Regions from separate parts of the Homo sapiens genome. Here region 2 is linked to region 1. The links are contacts of gene promoters, found by promoter capture Hi-C in human tissues and cell types (Jung and others, 2019). All regions are on one chromosome and are shown on one strand. Each heading gives the region's core, a stretch centred on a gene start or on the middle of the fragment in contact. The rest is flanking DNA. Distances are from core to core; before and after follow the strand shown. Region 1 holds the start of BOC (BOC cell adhesion associated, oncogene regulated). Region 2 overlaps NEPRO-AS1 (NEPRO antisense RNA 1).

Region 1 (3,863 bases), core at 496-2,995:
GCATCTGCAGGTGGCACAAGGGCCTGAAATCAAAATATAATCTTCACTCAGTCCACTCAAAGAGGTAACTCTGGGTCAAAAACTTAGGCGAACCCATTTGAACTTGCAGAGAAGGGATGAGGGGAGCAGCAGAACACCCCACCACACCCAAAAAGTGCCAGTTTGGGATTGCTGGTGTGTGGTTTCGGTATTCTTAGCTCTACTGCCACATCTCTGGAGGAGCACAACTCTGTTCCAAGCAACTCTGGCACTGCCACCCCCATCCCCAAAACAAAACTCTGCCAAACAAATCCCCGAGGCTCCATTAACTCCTTCAGGTCTGCCTGCCTCTCTCATCCCTCAGCATTCTCCCATCACCTGGAAAAGCAAATTAATACTGAACATCCTGAAAGTCAAGCAGGCCCTTCAACACCCCCATGAAAATTCTTCCTGGGTTCCCTGCCCTCCCCACAGCCCCGTCCCACTGGTTCCAGAGATTCATTTCCCACACCTTCTCACAGTTACATCAACAAAAACCCCAGGAGGACGCTGCTGGCGCGAACACGCACACACGCGCGCGCACACACGTACACGCACACACGAACTCTCTCTCTCACACACACACACACCTCTTTCACCTTTGCCCCAGCCCCTCAGACACCTCGGGCCACTCGGCTTCAGCCTCGCCCCTCTGCGCCAACAGCTAGGGATGCTTCCCTCAAGCTGCGTCGCTCCCGGTCCGCTGAGTTCCTCATTTTAGTGTTTTTCCTTTAGAAGACGCCAACTATGAGAAACCCTCACCCTCCAAAGAGGCCGAGTGCGTGTTGAGTGACTCTACGCATTTGCCGCCACGCCTCGGGTTCCCCCCACGGCCTGGAGCATGGGGCCGGGGCGCTGGTGTCAACCTTCGGTGGAAGTTTGGGAGGCTGGCTGGATCCTTCTTCCACCCGAGAAGCTTCTGGGAACCGCTGAGGCGAAACCACCATCGCCCGGCCAGACCGCTGCGGCAGGGAACGAGATGCGGCGCCCCTGGGCCCCGTAGCGGCTGCAGCCCCCGGGACCCCCGCTGCCCGCCTCGCCCCAACTTCTTCGCCCGGCGCCCGGCGCGCCCAGCCTCGGCCGCAGCTCCCAGCCCCGGGCGCCCGGCCGAGCGCTGGGACCCGGCTCCCGCCGCCGGCACGTCCCCCGGCAGCCACTCGCTGGCGCTGCCTCGGCCTGCGGCCGCCTCCCGCCCCCTCCTCTCCCCGAACCAACAGTAAACACAACTTTTTATGAAAAGAAAACAAACTTCAGCGACGTGACTCACCTCTGCTGCAGCCGGCGCCTGGGAAGGGCGAGCCGGGGCCCGGGGGCCAGCGTGGTGGGCGCGAGGGAGCCACACAGCGCCGCGCCGCACGGACACACAACACGCTCGGTGACACCGGGGACACACAACACGGGCGAGCGGCCGCGGCTGGAGCAACAAAGGAGCCGAGGACCGAGAAGTTGCGGGCCGGAGAGGGAGGGCGCGTGCGGGCGTGTTGTGGCTGTGGCGGGCGTGAGGGTGTGCGCGCCGTGTGTGCGCGTGTGTGTCTTTTCTGTGTGTGTTTGTGTGTCTCTGTGTGTGTGTCTGTGCGCGCGCGCGGCGGCTGACACCGGCGGGCCGGGGCTCAGGGTCCCCGCGGCAGAAAGCGGCGGCCGCGGGGGCGGCAGCAGGAGGACAACGCAGGGGACGCCGCGCCCAGCGCACCCGGTCCCTCCATATGGAAGAAGCTTTTTGGATGACTGAACTCGCAAACAATTCCTTCTTTTGCTTCTCCTGCCTAGGAGCCTCCCATTACCGTGCGAGGAGGAGGAGGAGGAGGGAGTGGAGGAGGCTGGGAGGAGGGGGAGGAGCAAAATGGAGCAAAGAAAAAGTCTTGGAAAGGAAGCTGGAAAAAGTCCCCCAAACTCTAGGGCAGTTTTCCCGTTAACACCCACTTTTTGCTGTGCCTCAGACCCGCGCTCTCCTCCAACTTCTTTTGCTTTCCCATACCAAAAGCACCATCTTCTCCCTTTTCCCCGAACCCAGGGGGCTCCCCTGAAGCCTTCACTTTCTCTTTAGCTTCACCTCGCACCCTTGCTCTTCCATGTACAATCCTTCCCTCCTTTCGCCTAGTCTCTTCCAAGACTTTCCTGACACCCACCTCTCAATGGTCTTCTTCTTCTGCAAGACAAACTGTTGGATAAATCATTAAAAGCAAACTCATCAGAAAATGGGACAGCGGCGGTGGAGAAAATGATAAGGAAACCAATCTCAGGGAAGCCTTAACGCAGCCTCCCCCGACCCCCTCGGTCGGTTGGGGAGGGTTTGCCGCGTCGTCCATTGACAGCGCCCTGACCTCCATTCATCATCCCAGGATGGAGCCAGGGAGGAATGGGGAGGGAGAGCTGGGGCTGGGGTTGGGGGCATGGGTTGGGGGTGCTAGTGGCCACGGAAAAGTTAGTTACCTATGCGTGTGTATGTGTACGCGCACGCGCGCGTGTGTGTTGGTCAGAAAACTTTCAGAGCTGTGGTTCTCAAACTTGATCTGCAGCAGGACTCCCTGGAAGGCTTGCTAAATCCCTTTGCTGGGCCCCACCTCCAGAGTTTCTGATTCAGTAGGTGGACCTGGGAATTTGCATTTCAAATAGGTTCCCAGGTGATGCTGATGCTGCAGGTCAGGGGCCACGTTTTAAAAACTACCTTTCCAGGGCAGTGAGAAGGCAAATGTTGAGTTGGTGGCAAATTGGATTCCCTTCTTATTTTTTAGGAATGAAGCACAGGTTGTGAGCGGTCATCCATTCCGTATCTTCATTGCAGCTGAGAAAACCAAGTCCCAGCAGGGCTAAGCCATTTGTTTAAAGTGAACTGGGAGTTTGTGCCAAGCTGGTGAGGAAGCTGTCCTGGAAATAAGACAGCCAGGCTAGTAGTAGGGTGAATGGGGGTGCTGCCTTCCCTGTGTGGCTGGACAGCTGCACTGGGAGTCAGGAAGCCACTGTGACTTTGGAAAGTCACTTAACTTTTCTGGGCCTCTGGGGGTTTTGTGTGTGTGTGTGTGTGTGTGTGTGTGTGTGTGTGTGTGTGTGTGTGTGTTTGTTTGTTTGTTTGTTTTTTGACAGAGTCTCACTCTGTCGCCCAGGCTAGAGTGTAGTGGTGCAATCTCGGCTCACTGCAAAGTCTGCCTCCTGAATTCGAGAGATTCTCCAGTGTCAGCCTCCCAAGCAGCTGGGATTACAAGCACCTGCCACCATGCGCGGCTAATTTTTGTATTTTTAGTAGAGACGGAGTTTCACCATGTTGTCCAGGCTGGTCTTGAACACCTAGCCTCAAGTGATCTGCCCACCTTGGCCTCCCAAAGTGCTAAAATTACAGGCGTGAGCCACCTCACCCGGCCCTGTTTTGTTTTTTATTAACTTGTTTCTTGTCAGTAAACATACATACTTTACACTGAGTATAGGACTCTAATTGAATCTGAACCAAAAGACCTTTACAAAGGAAACATAAATGTATTTTATTCCATATTTTGCACTATTTTTTCTCCGGTATTTAGTCATTCAGGCAGAAGCCAATTTCCTTTTTGATTTATCGAGTACTTTCAGCTCTGTGCCTGGATTCTTAGGCATGTTCCTCTGGCAAAATGGATCTGGAGGATGATGCATTTTCAGCAAGAAGGTGAAAAGGACTCTGAACTCTCTCTGTGCATTATCCACCTACATTTCCTTTTCCTACTTAATCATCCTAATTTTCCTTCCCTTTTAATCTCTAACAATCTCCCCCAACATTCTCAAAGACCTATTTTTCTTTCCAGTCATTGACTATATTAGCTTCCACTTTCTTTTGTCCTCCTTCCAAGGCACAATTCTGGACTACAAGGCCTGGGGTC
Region 2 (3,454 bases), core at 549-3,048, 150 kb after region 1:
TATGATAAACCCACAGCCAACATCATACTGAATGGACAAAAGCTGGAAGCATTCCTCTTGAGAACAGAAAAAAGACAAGGATGCCCACTGTCACTACTCCTATTCAACATAGTACTGGAAGTGCTAGCCAGAGCCATCAGACAAGAGAAAGAAATAAAAGGTATCCCAACAGGTAAGGAAGTCAAACTATCTCTCTTTGAGGATGATACAATTCCATACCTAGAAAACCCCCCAAAGACTCTGTGAAAAGGCTCCTGGAACTGATAAACAACTTCAGTAATGTTTCAGGATGGAAAATAAATGTACACACATCAGTAATATTTATATACACCAATAACATTCAAGCTGATACACAAGTCTTTCTAAGTCTATCATCTGCAGCCTTAGGCACGGTCTATGTATGTTTACGGCAGTGGTGTGTTGCTAAGCTGGCTCCCTGAAAACAAAGTCCTGATGTGCAGCATTTGTCCATGATCATGGTGTAAATATTCTTTCGTGGCTAATTTCAAGCTAACAATGGTTTAGCAATCTGCTCAAGAATTTCCTGAATATTTGACAATATGTTCCCACAAGTGAGTCTTAGCCAATTACAGCACACCACAGACCTGGCATAAAACTAGAAGGAACCAGACCTTCTAGTTCTTCTATCAGTCTGTGGTGTCAACACAATGCCCTGCACATAGTAAGAACACAAGTGAAGCCCAGATTGACTGAATTTCTTTTTTTTTTTTTTGAGACGAAGTTTCGCTCTTTGCTCTTGTTGCCCAGGCTGGAGCACAAAGGCGCCATCTTGGCTCACTGCAACCTCCGCCTGCCGGGTTCAAGCAATTCTCCTGCCTCATCCTCCTGAGTAGCTGGGATTATAGGCGCCCGCCACCATGCCCAGCTGATTTTTGTATGTTTAGTAGTGATGGGTTTTCAGCATGTTGACCAGGCTGGTCTTGAACTTCTGACCTCAGGTCATCTACCCACCTCGGCCTCCCAAAGTGCTGGGATTACAGGTTTGAGCCACTGCGCCCGGCCTGACTGAATTTCTTTATGTCTTGACTAGAACGATCTTCCTGACCGTCATAATTTTTCTTATGGAATGTGATTATGATAATTTCCCAGCCTAGTCTTAGCTCCAGGCTCTAATTTATTCTATTTATTGTGGTATTATTTTCAGGTTACAAGTTGGTCTGGTTTTTTAAATTTCTGTTCCTTTCTTATTCTGATACTTTTATTTTTAATGCAGAAACACATACCCATGAAAACATAGTAACCTCCATGCTTCCCTGTTTCTATCTTACAAGAGAGTAAGTGCTCCCAGTGCTAAACTTTAAGCAGTGTGAACTCCAACCACTTCACATGAGTATTTTTTTTTTTTTTTTTTTGTGATCCATGTCAGTCCATGATTTGCTCAGGGGTTCCTTCTTGAAATGCCATGCATGATGGTATCTGGGAACTGATTATCATGTCAGAGGAAGATTTTGGAGACCAACCTGCTATTACTGGCAAACCAGATATTGACTATATCTTTTGTGGACCTTTTTCACTTTAATAAGTTAAAGAGCCTCCATCTGTTGGGCTCTGTCTCCTTTTAGCTCTTCTCTTATTTGACTTTTGCCCTGAGTTTGTTGTGTAGGTTCACTTTGCAGGGCTGTGCCAATTGTGGCTTTGGGACGAAGTGTTCCTTTTCCAGACAGAGATGTTTCATCTGGAGCCAGCCTTGACTTTTCTTTCTGCTATAATGTAAACATGAAAATATGAAAATGAACAGCACAAATAAGGTTTTATGGCTTTTTCCAGTAACATAAGGAGCCAAGAAAGGCAATAACAGAATTCAATCATTCATTCTCCTTTCCTATTAACTTGATTTTAATTTATCTTCCAGAATAAATATTTGACAAATTTCTTCATTAGTGTGGAGCTGAAGAAAATGCAGTATCTTTGGCTCAGGCGGGTTAATACTGCTCGACTTTGGCAGTTCTGGCCTGTGGAGTTTAGTGCTGGATTTGTGATTCCTACCAGGCCATATTGCAAAGACTAGATAAAGAAGGCAGTGAGGTTGTTGACTGGGGGTCCAAGGCTCAGGCAGCCAAAAGCAGACATGAGAGGTCAAGGCTGAGGTACTGGTAGAGACGAGCTCAAGACAAAACTGTGTGTCCACTGGTTATACTCCTTACCAGGAGTGCAATTCTTTCTTCAAAGTGGAAAAATACAAGAAGACCTCTAGAAATGGAGTGAAGCTTTCAAAAAATTCAAAGCAGGCACGTTCTTCATAGAGTTCAGGAGTCAAAACAGGTTGACTGCAAGTTAGATTAGGGAGCAGTGACTCACATGCACATTCCAGACAGGGTGCATGAGATAATTTTGAGAGGGCACAGGCAGGGACAGCCTGAAGCAAAATCATGTACTTTCCCATGGCATGCCCTACTTCTGCTATTCTACCAACGGTTATGGACTGAATGTTTGTGTCCTTCCCCACATTCATATGTTGAAATCTTAATCCCCAATGTGATGGTATGAGAAGGTTGGGCCTTTGGGAGGTAATTAGGTCATGAGTGTGGAGCCTTTATCAATAAGATTAGTGCCCTTATAGAAAGAGACCCAAGAGCTTGCTGTCTCTTTCTGTTCTCTGTCATGTGAGGATGTCATGAGAAGATGTTCATCTGCAAGCCAGGAAGCAGGCCCTCCCCAGACACTGGACCTGCTGGCACCTTGATCTTGGACTTCCCAGCTTCTAGTACTATGAGAAATAAATGTGTATTGTTTGAGTCACCCACTCTTCGGTAATGTGTTGCAGCAGCCTGAACTGACTAAGACACCATCTTGTTTCTGAAGTCTTATGACTCCCTACCACTTCCAGGGACCTGCCAACTCCACTCATAATCGTGAAACACTGAATCCTTACCAAAAAAGGAATGCTTCCAGGAAAATGTCATATGGTGTGTTTGATAATTTGGGACTCAGGCTTAGATGTAAGTATTGTATGCCTATTACTTACATGGTCCAAGTGATGTACATAAGTCTGCCTACATACTTAGAATCACTTGGATTCTAAGTATGTAGTAAAAATACTAATGCTTTCTTTTCTCTTCTCATCTTCATCTAAGGGATCAGGACAGTGAGGGAGGAGGGGGTGCTGTGGTGATGACTTGGCAAGAGGCAGTCTGATTGCTGAGGAAGACAGTGGGGGAAGATGCAGAGGTGGCAAGTGAGAGAGGCAGTTGGAAGGCTGGGGACTGGTTATATTCAGCAAATAAGTTAGTTCACTGAGAAAATATGTGAATAAATTGAGTATAGTCAGATCCATGTTTCTTATCATCTGGTACAAGAGTTATAATCATGGAAATAGGAAATCTAGGGAGATCCTCAGATGTTGGATTGAAATTGGAAGTATTGGTAGAAACTTATGAATTTTCAAATATATATAGATATAGAAACAATTATAGAAACATGTAGCAATATACAC

The links. The method cuts DNA at HindIII sites, captures the fragments that hold promoters and counts their contacts. A contact is called where the count stands out against the background at its distance.
Region 2: a contact is called between a fragment that was not itself captured here and the fragment with the promoter of BOC in region 1, in 1 of the 25 tissues and cell types used here (mesenchymal stem cells).

What each region holds. Positions count from the first base shown.
Region 1 is chr3:113,209,439-113,213,301 of GRCh38, reverse strand. It overlaps BOC (BOC cell adhesion associated, oncogene regulated), which reads right to left and starts at 1,745. Exons shown (of 20, transcript NM_001378074.1): 1 at 1,286-1,745. LOC124909486 reads left to right here. Exons shown (of 2, transcript XM_047449436.1): 2 at 1,022-3,863. The coding sequence ends at 1,747. RefSeq lists an enhancer at 733-1,384. The HindIII fragment of the contact is 6,739 bases long and covers 1,334-3,863 here.
Region 2 is chr3:113,062,613-113,066,066 of GRCh38, reverse strand. All of the region lies in intron 1 of NEPRO-AS1 (NEPRO antisense RNA 1), which reads right to left. The region is part of intron 1 of LOLI1 (lncRNA oncogene in liver cancer 1); the gene reads left to right. Among named protein-coding and RNA genes, the nearest start is that of LOLI1, 40 kb to the left of the region's middle. The HindIII fragment of the contact is 4,184 bases long and covers 1-3,454 here.